2 separate regions of the Homo sapiens genome follow, and region 2 is linked to region 1. Evidence: promoter capture Hi-C in human tissues and cell types (Jung and others, 2019). All regions are on one chromosome and are shown on one strand. Each heading gives the region's core, a stretch centred on a gene start or on the middle of the fragment in contact. The rest is flanking DNA. Distances are from core to core; before and after follow the strand shown. Region 1 holds the start of GRAMD1A (GRAM domain containing 1A). Region 2 holds the start of IGFLR1 (IGF like family receptor 1).

Region 1 (3,460 bases), core at 345-2,844:
AGAGTTTCAAGCCAGGCGCGATGGCTTAAGCCTGTAATCCCAGCACTTTGGGAGGCCGAGGTGGGTGGATCACCTGAGGTCAGGAGTTCGAGATCAGCCTGGCCAACATGGTGAAACCCCATCTCTACTAAAAATACAAAACTTAGCCAGGCGTGGTGGCACACGCCTGTAATCCCAGCTACTCAGGAGGCTGAGGCAGGAGAATTGCTTGAACCCAGCAGGAGGAGGTTGCAGTGGGCCGAGATCGTGCCACTGCACTCTAGCCTGGGCGACAGAGCCAGACTCTATTTCAAAAGAAAAAAAAAAAAAGAAGAGCGTTTCAGAGCTAAATTACAGGCATATGCAGGCACAGAGGGTCATGGTAGAACCCAGAGCCCCAGGCACACTTGTACACACACCACTAAGTCACAATGGGACGCACACTGGTAACTTACAGCAACGCTTGGAGCTACAGATAGAATTAATGGTAAAACACACACAGCCCAAGAAGGATCAGAGCTGCTACACACGGTAACTCCAGACACATGTACAAACACTCCAACGTCACACTCAGACACACAGGGGTAATTTATATTTGCACAGGGAGCTACAGATGGAATGAGACACAACACGCACACAACCAGCTGCTCACAGCCACAGATTTGGAGCCCCAGACACACACAGGTAACTTACAGTGACACACAGAGCCGCGGTCAGAATTAGTGGTTAAGTTACACGCAGGAACTCTATCAGAGGCCCAAAGCTGCTGCAGGCTAGCAGCCCCAGACACACGTACACACACTTGCAAGACAATTCACAGTCGGAAGCACATGCGCCCACCTGGACCGGAAGGGGAGTAAGAAGTCAATTCCGAGCACACAGGACCCCCCGCCCTCCATGACCTCAAGCACGCGGTCCTGGAGAGACGCAGGAAGCCCCCACCCCCGGCAGCCCCGAGACCCGCAACAGCCAAGGACGGTGGGAGGGGGCCCAGGCAGGAGGGGGCTGCCTACTCCCGGCGCGCCCAGGGCTCCGCGGCCTGTGGGCCTGGGCTGGTCCCGATCCTGTCTCCATCCCAGGCCGGAGCCCCAGTTCGGCCTCGCGCTCACCCCTGGCTTACCAGGCAGGGGGTTGCCAGGCCTGAGGGCCCTCCCCGCCAGATGAACCCGCGGGCCCCCAGCCAAACCCCGCAACCCAGTGCGTCGCGGGCCGGCAGTGGCGACCCAGACCCCGGGCCCTGCCCTGCGTCCGCGCCCCACTCCCCAGCTGCACCCCTCGCCCGGGGGCCCCCTGCCCCGCCCCCACCCCGATCGCCCCGGCCAGAGCCATGTGCAGAGGCCCCCGACCTCTGCAGCGGCCGCTCCGCCCCCTCCCCAAGCCCGCGGCGCCCCCTCCCTCCGGTGGCCTCCCCCGCGCGCCCGGTCCCTGAGCTCTAGTCGCCCGGTCCTTACTCGAACATGGATGCGGCGCGGTGGGCGCGCCCCGGGCGCAGGGCAGGGCAGGGCAGGGCAGGGCTGGGCTGCGCGGGGCTGGGCTGCGCTGGGCGTCCCCGCAGGGCACCGGCCTGGCCTTCCGCGGCCGCCGCCCCCACCCGACCCAACCGCCCGCACAAAAGGCCGGAGCCGCCGGAGGCCGCCGCGGCGTCAGCGACACCCCCTTCCTTCCCCCGCCCCGCCGCGTCACGGCGCCGCCCCCAGCCCGGGAGGGAAGGCGGGGAGGGGCCGCAGAGGCCTAGAAGGAGGGAGAAGCCGGGGAGAGAGGGACTGGACAGAGAAGGGAAAGCAGAGGGGCAGAGAGACAGAGAAGGAAACAAAGAGACTTTATTAAAACCAAACATCGTGGAGGCAGCTGCCTGCCCGCAGGTTGGGGAGCCCCCTCCCCTAGTACCTAGAAAAGGGTCCCTAGCAACTACTATGCCCCTGGCCAGAAGCTCCTGGACCTCCCAGGGAGGAACCTGAGAGCCGGGGCGAAGGTGGGGGAGGACTGGAGATGCTGGGAAACCGAGGTGTATGTATGGGGGAGGGGGCCTGAAGCTGGCGGGAAGGGGTGGGGCCGGTTGGCCGCCTCCTCCTTCCCTCTCCCAGTCTCTGAGCCCGGGTTCCTGGTCCCAGGAGGTCCGGTGCCTCCGTTTCTAGGGACTTCCCAGTTTTGGTCAGCCAGGCCAAGTACCAAGTCAGAATCCAGCCTCCCTGGCTCTTATCTGTGCTGAGACCTTGCGCTCATCACCCCAGTGCTGGGAGTCCCACTAACTCGGTGGTAAGGGCTTTTCCCGGGGACAGCGCAGGAACGGGCAAAATCAGTCCTTTTACGGAAGGAGAAGCCCGGCCTCTAAGATGGGAAGTGACTTGTTGGGGTCACCTGGTAGGTAGGCGGCAGAGTTGGATTCGATCCTGCTCTGACGCCATAACCTGCGTCCCCCCTCCCCCGCCCCGTCTGCAAGAGGTCAGAGTCAGGTGGTGTCCTGGACTCCTGGCCCAACCACACAGAAATGCGAGTCCCACCTCACAGCTCCGGGGCTGTGGCTCCCCAGCGCTCTCCAGGGTACGCTGTCCCCGCCTCTTTTGAAAAAACTCCCTTCCCAACCCTCTCCATCAACCCTTCCCCTCCTCCTGCAAAAGAAGCCCACCTGACTTCTCCATTTTGATGAATGGCAGGCCCAGAACTTCAGAGTCTTTTCTGACCCTCTCTTTTCCTTCACACCACATCCAATCCGTCACAAACTGTGGGCTCCACGTATAAAATCAATCGCTCCATTCTAAACTCTTCTTCCTCCGCTGCCCACGCCCTGGCCCAGCCTCCATCCTCTCCTGCCTGATCTCCCTGCTCCCATCCCTGCCCCTACTGTCTGTTCTCACCTGCAGCCAGAGAGAGCCTGGGACCACCTGAGTCAGTTAACTACCCTCCTGGCTCAGAGCCCTGCCCCAGCTGTACCTCACTCCAGGTAAAAGCAAAGTCCTCACCTTGGCACCCAAGGCCCCTGTCAGCTCTCTGACTTCAGCTCCTCATCTCCCCCTGGCTCACACCCCCCATCCAGCCTACCCGCTGTTCTTCTAACTCACCAGGCACCTTCCTGCCTCCTACCCCAAGACCTTTGCACTGGTTATTCCCTCTGCATGGACAGCACCCCCCCTATCGCCGTGCCCTACCTCTCATGCTAACCCCCACCTCTAAAACCCCCATCCACCATCTGACATTTGCTGCCTCCCACCGGCCAATGGAAGAGAGGCCCTCCTCCCACCACCTTCCTCTGTCCAACTGATCTCTTTAGATTTCTCTTTGGTCTGTTTCTTCTAGTGTAATGCTTTTAGTTTTTTAATTAAATAATATTTATTTCAGGTCAGGCGCGTTGGGTCACGCCTGTAATCCCAGCACTTTGGGAGGCCAAGGAGGGTGGATCACCTATCAGGAGTTCGAGACCAGCCTGGCCAACAGAGTGAAACCCCATCTCTATCAAAAATACAAAAAAATTAGCCAGGTGTAG
Region 2 (3,409 bases), core at 713-3,212, 740 kb before region 1:
CACAGAACTGCAGGAGAAGTATGGGGAGATTGAAGAGATGAATGTGTGCGACAACCTTGGGGACCACCTCGTGGGCAACGTCTATGTCAAGGTGCTTGCTGCCCCCCACTTAGGGCCCAGAAGTGGAGGCGTTTCAATGCCTGATGGTGGCCACTGTAGGCTCTCAGCTTGAATTTCATCACTAAATCCAGTCCAGCCCCAGAGCGGGTAGTGAGTCCCCTGAAGATCTCTGAGTTCTCCTGCTGACCCTGACTGACATTTCCTGCAGTTCCGGAGGGAGGAGGATGGAGAGCGGGCCGTGGCTGAACTCAGTAACCGCTGGTTCAACGGGCAGGCTGTGCACGGTGAGCTGTCTCCTGTCACTGACTTCCGGGAGTCATGCTGTCGCCAGTATGAGATGGGGTATGGTAGTTCAAGGGTGGGATGGGCACTTGGAATCCCAGACTTTGAATGCGTGGTAGGGGCTGTCAGTGACAATGGCTTCCTCCATCTCTCTACCCTCTATGCAGGGAATGTACCCGAGGTGGCTTCTGCAACTTCATGCATCTGCGGCCCATTTCCCAGAACCTCCAGAGGCAGCTCTATGGGCGGGGACCCAGGCGCAGGTACCTCAGGACCAGCCTGCTATGTCTCCTCATGTCCTAAGGCCCCTATATCCTCAGATGAGCCTAACCCTAAGCCCCAGTAACCACGTTCCCAAGAATCTTTTTTTTTTTTTTTTTTTTTTGAGATGGAGCCTCACTCTGTTGCCCAGGCTGGAGTGCATTGGCACCATCTTGGTTCATGGCAACTTCCGCCTCCCGGGTTCAAGCAATTCTCTGCCTCAGCCTCCCAAATAGCTGGGATTACAGGCACCTGCCACCATGCCCGGCTAATTTTTGTGTTTTTAGTAGAGATGGGGTTTCACCATCTTGGCCAGGCTGGTCTGAACTCCTAACCTCGTGATCCACCTGCCTCACCCTCCCAAAGTGCTGGGATTACAGGCGTGAGCCACCACTCCCGGCTGACTGTTTTTTTTTTTTTTTTTTTTTTTTTTTTTTGAGACGGAGTTTTGCTCTTCTTCCGCAGGCTGGAGTGCAAAGGCGCAGTCTTGGCTCAGTGCAACCTCTGCCTCCCAGGTTCAAGCAATTCTCCTTTCTCAGCCTCCCAAGTAGCTGGGATTATAGGCACCTGCCACCATGCCTGGCTAATTTTTGTATTTTTAGTAGAGATGGGGTTTCACCACGTTGGCCAGCCTGGTCTCGAACTCCGGACCTCAGGTAATCCACCCATCTCGGCCTCCCAAAGTGTGGGGATTACAGGCGTGAACCACTGCGCCCGGTCATTCCCAAGACTCTTATACCCTAAGAGTAGTTCTGAGCTCCATCTGGAGACCAGTACCTAAGTCCCAATCCCCAAACCAGCCTGAACCCCTAATCCACGACCAGCCTGGATTGCCACCCCTGATACTGGCCACTGAGTTCCCCTGATACTGGCCACTGAGGTCGTGTCTTAGAACTCTAGTTATTTCAGCACCCTCCTGCCTCATCCCAGAGCAGAGAGGCAGGCCTGCAGGATCTCTGCACCACTCCTCAGGGTTCTAACAGAACTCTCAACGCTCCTATTCCCAGGTCACCCCCGAGGTTCCATACTGGCCACCATCCCCGAGAGAGGAACCATCGGTGTTCCCCTGATCACTGGCATGGCCGCTTCTGAGGCCCTGGCCCCCTTACCCTTCACCCCCAACAGGGACAGATGTTCCTGGCAGGACCTCTCCTCAAAGCCCCCTTCACTCTCCTGCCCCATCCTTCCCAGGCTCCCGGGCTCCATAATGTAATCTGTTCAGCATGGAGACCTTCTTCTACCGCCCCTGTCTTAATAAAGCTGCGTGTTTCACTTCGGCATCAACTTGCTTTTGCTGTGGTTTGGCATTTCCCTCCACCCACACATGTGACGAAAAGGGGAAACAAGACTGGGTCCTGGCCACAACTTCAGCTGAGGAACTTGGCACGGCCAGCTTGGGACCCAGGACCCTAACGGTACTGGTAGGGTGGGGACACCTTTGTGCTGAAAACCTTAGCACCTCCATCTGAGGCTTATTCAAGGGGGAGAGACCTGGTTGTGGCAGGTGGGAGGAGCCCTAGCCCCAAGGAGATTAGGATTCAAAGGTGAGGTGAGGTGCTGGGAGGTGGTCTCCAGCCAGTATGGGGCTGACTCCTCCGTGCCTGCCGAATTGTGATGGGAGTTAGTAATGCCTTACACTTAAACACTGAGTTTACTGTATGTGAGGTGCTGTTTTCAGCACTTTAGTTTGTTTTTGTTTTTTTTAAGGAGTTTCATTCCTGTTGCCCAGGCTGGAGTGCAATGGCACGATCTCAGCTCACTGCAGCCTCCACTTCCCAGGTTCAAGCAATTCTGCCTCAGCCTCCCAAGTAGCTGGGATTTACAGGCATGCGCTACCACGCCCGGCTAATTTTGTATTTTTAATAGAGACAGGGTTTCACCATGTAGGCCAGGCTGGTTTTGAACTACTGACCTCAGGTGATCCACCCACCTGGGCCTCCCAAAGTGTTGGGATTACAGGCATGAGCCACTGCGCCCGGCGGCCAGTTTTTTTTGTTTTTAGAGATGAGGTCTTGCTGTGTTGCCCAGGCTGGTCTGTAATTCATGGCTCAAGCAATCCTCCTACCTTGGCCTCCCTAGTAGCAGGGACTACAGACGTGAGCCACTGCACTTGGCAAAGTGCTTTGCTGTTTTTTTTTTTTTTTTTTTTTTTTGTAAAGATGGGGTTTCATTTTGTTGTCCAGGCTGATCTCTCGAACTCCTGGGCTCAAGTGATCCTCCTGTCTTGGCCTCCCAAAGTGTTGGGATTACAGGCATGAGCCACCACACCCAGCCCCTGCTTTACTTCTAATGACGGTTCTAATTCTCCACAATAACCCTATGAGACAGGTGCTATCATTGTCTTATTTTAGGGATGGAAAAGGGAGGGTGGGTGGGTGAGGACACGGCAGAGGTGGGATATGCATTCTTGCAATCTAGATCCGCAGCCCTGTTAGTCCCCTAGTGGCCTTGTGGGCTTCTCTGATAACCGGCTCAGTTGGGGGATGAGGGCTCGGGGGTAGATTCCCGGCTTCCGAAGAGGCGTGAGAATTCTGTTCCCCCACATCACCGCGTCCTTTCTTCTGCCCGATTTCCCCGGAAAGTGTAGCAGAGGCGCTGTGTTTGGAAGTCCCGCTATCACGGCCCCCCAGATGGGGCCTGGACGATGCCTCCTGACGGCCTTGTTGCTTCTGGCCCTGGCGCCACCGCCGGAAGCCTCCCAGTACTGCGGCCGCCTTGAATACTGGAACCCAGACAACAAGTGCTGCAGCAGCTGCCTGCAACGCTTCGGGCCGCCCCCCTGCCCGGGTGAGAATCCGAGACCGAG

What was found. Contacts are between HindIII fragments. The study calls those that stand out against the background at their distance.
Region 2: the fragment with the promoter of IGFLR1 here is called in contact with the fragment with the promoter of GRAMD1A in region 1 in 1 of the 25 tissues and cell types used here (spleen).

Annotation. Positions count from the first base shown.
Region 1 is chr19:34,998,457-35,001,916 of GRCh38, reverse strand. It overlaps GRAMD1A (GRAM domain containing 1A), which reads right to left and starts at 1,594. Exons shown (of 20, transcript NM_020895.5): 1 at 1,431-1,594. The coding sequence starts at 1,438. RefSeq lists silencers at 980-1,109, 1,380-1,759. The HindIII fragment of the contact is 31,318 bases long and covers 1-3,460 here.
Region 2 is chr19:35,741,005-35,744,413 of GRCh38, reverse strand. IGFLR1 (IGF like family receptor 1) reads left to right here and starts at 1,962. Exons shown (of 5, transcript NM_024660.4): 1 at 1,962-2,018; 2 at 3,191-3,390. The coding sequence starts at 3,234. U2AF1L4 (U2 small nuclear RNA auxiliary factor 1 like 4) reads left to right here. Exons shown (of 6, transcript NM_001040425.3): 3 at 1-91; 4 at 269-402; 5 at 510-605; 6 at 1,611-1,887. The coding sequence ends at 1,695. RefSeq lists a silencer at 284-444 and an enhancer at 1,780-2,209. The HindIII fragment of the contact is 13,678 bases long and covers 1-3,409 here.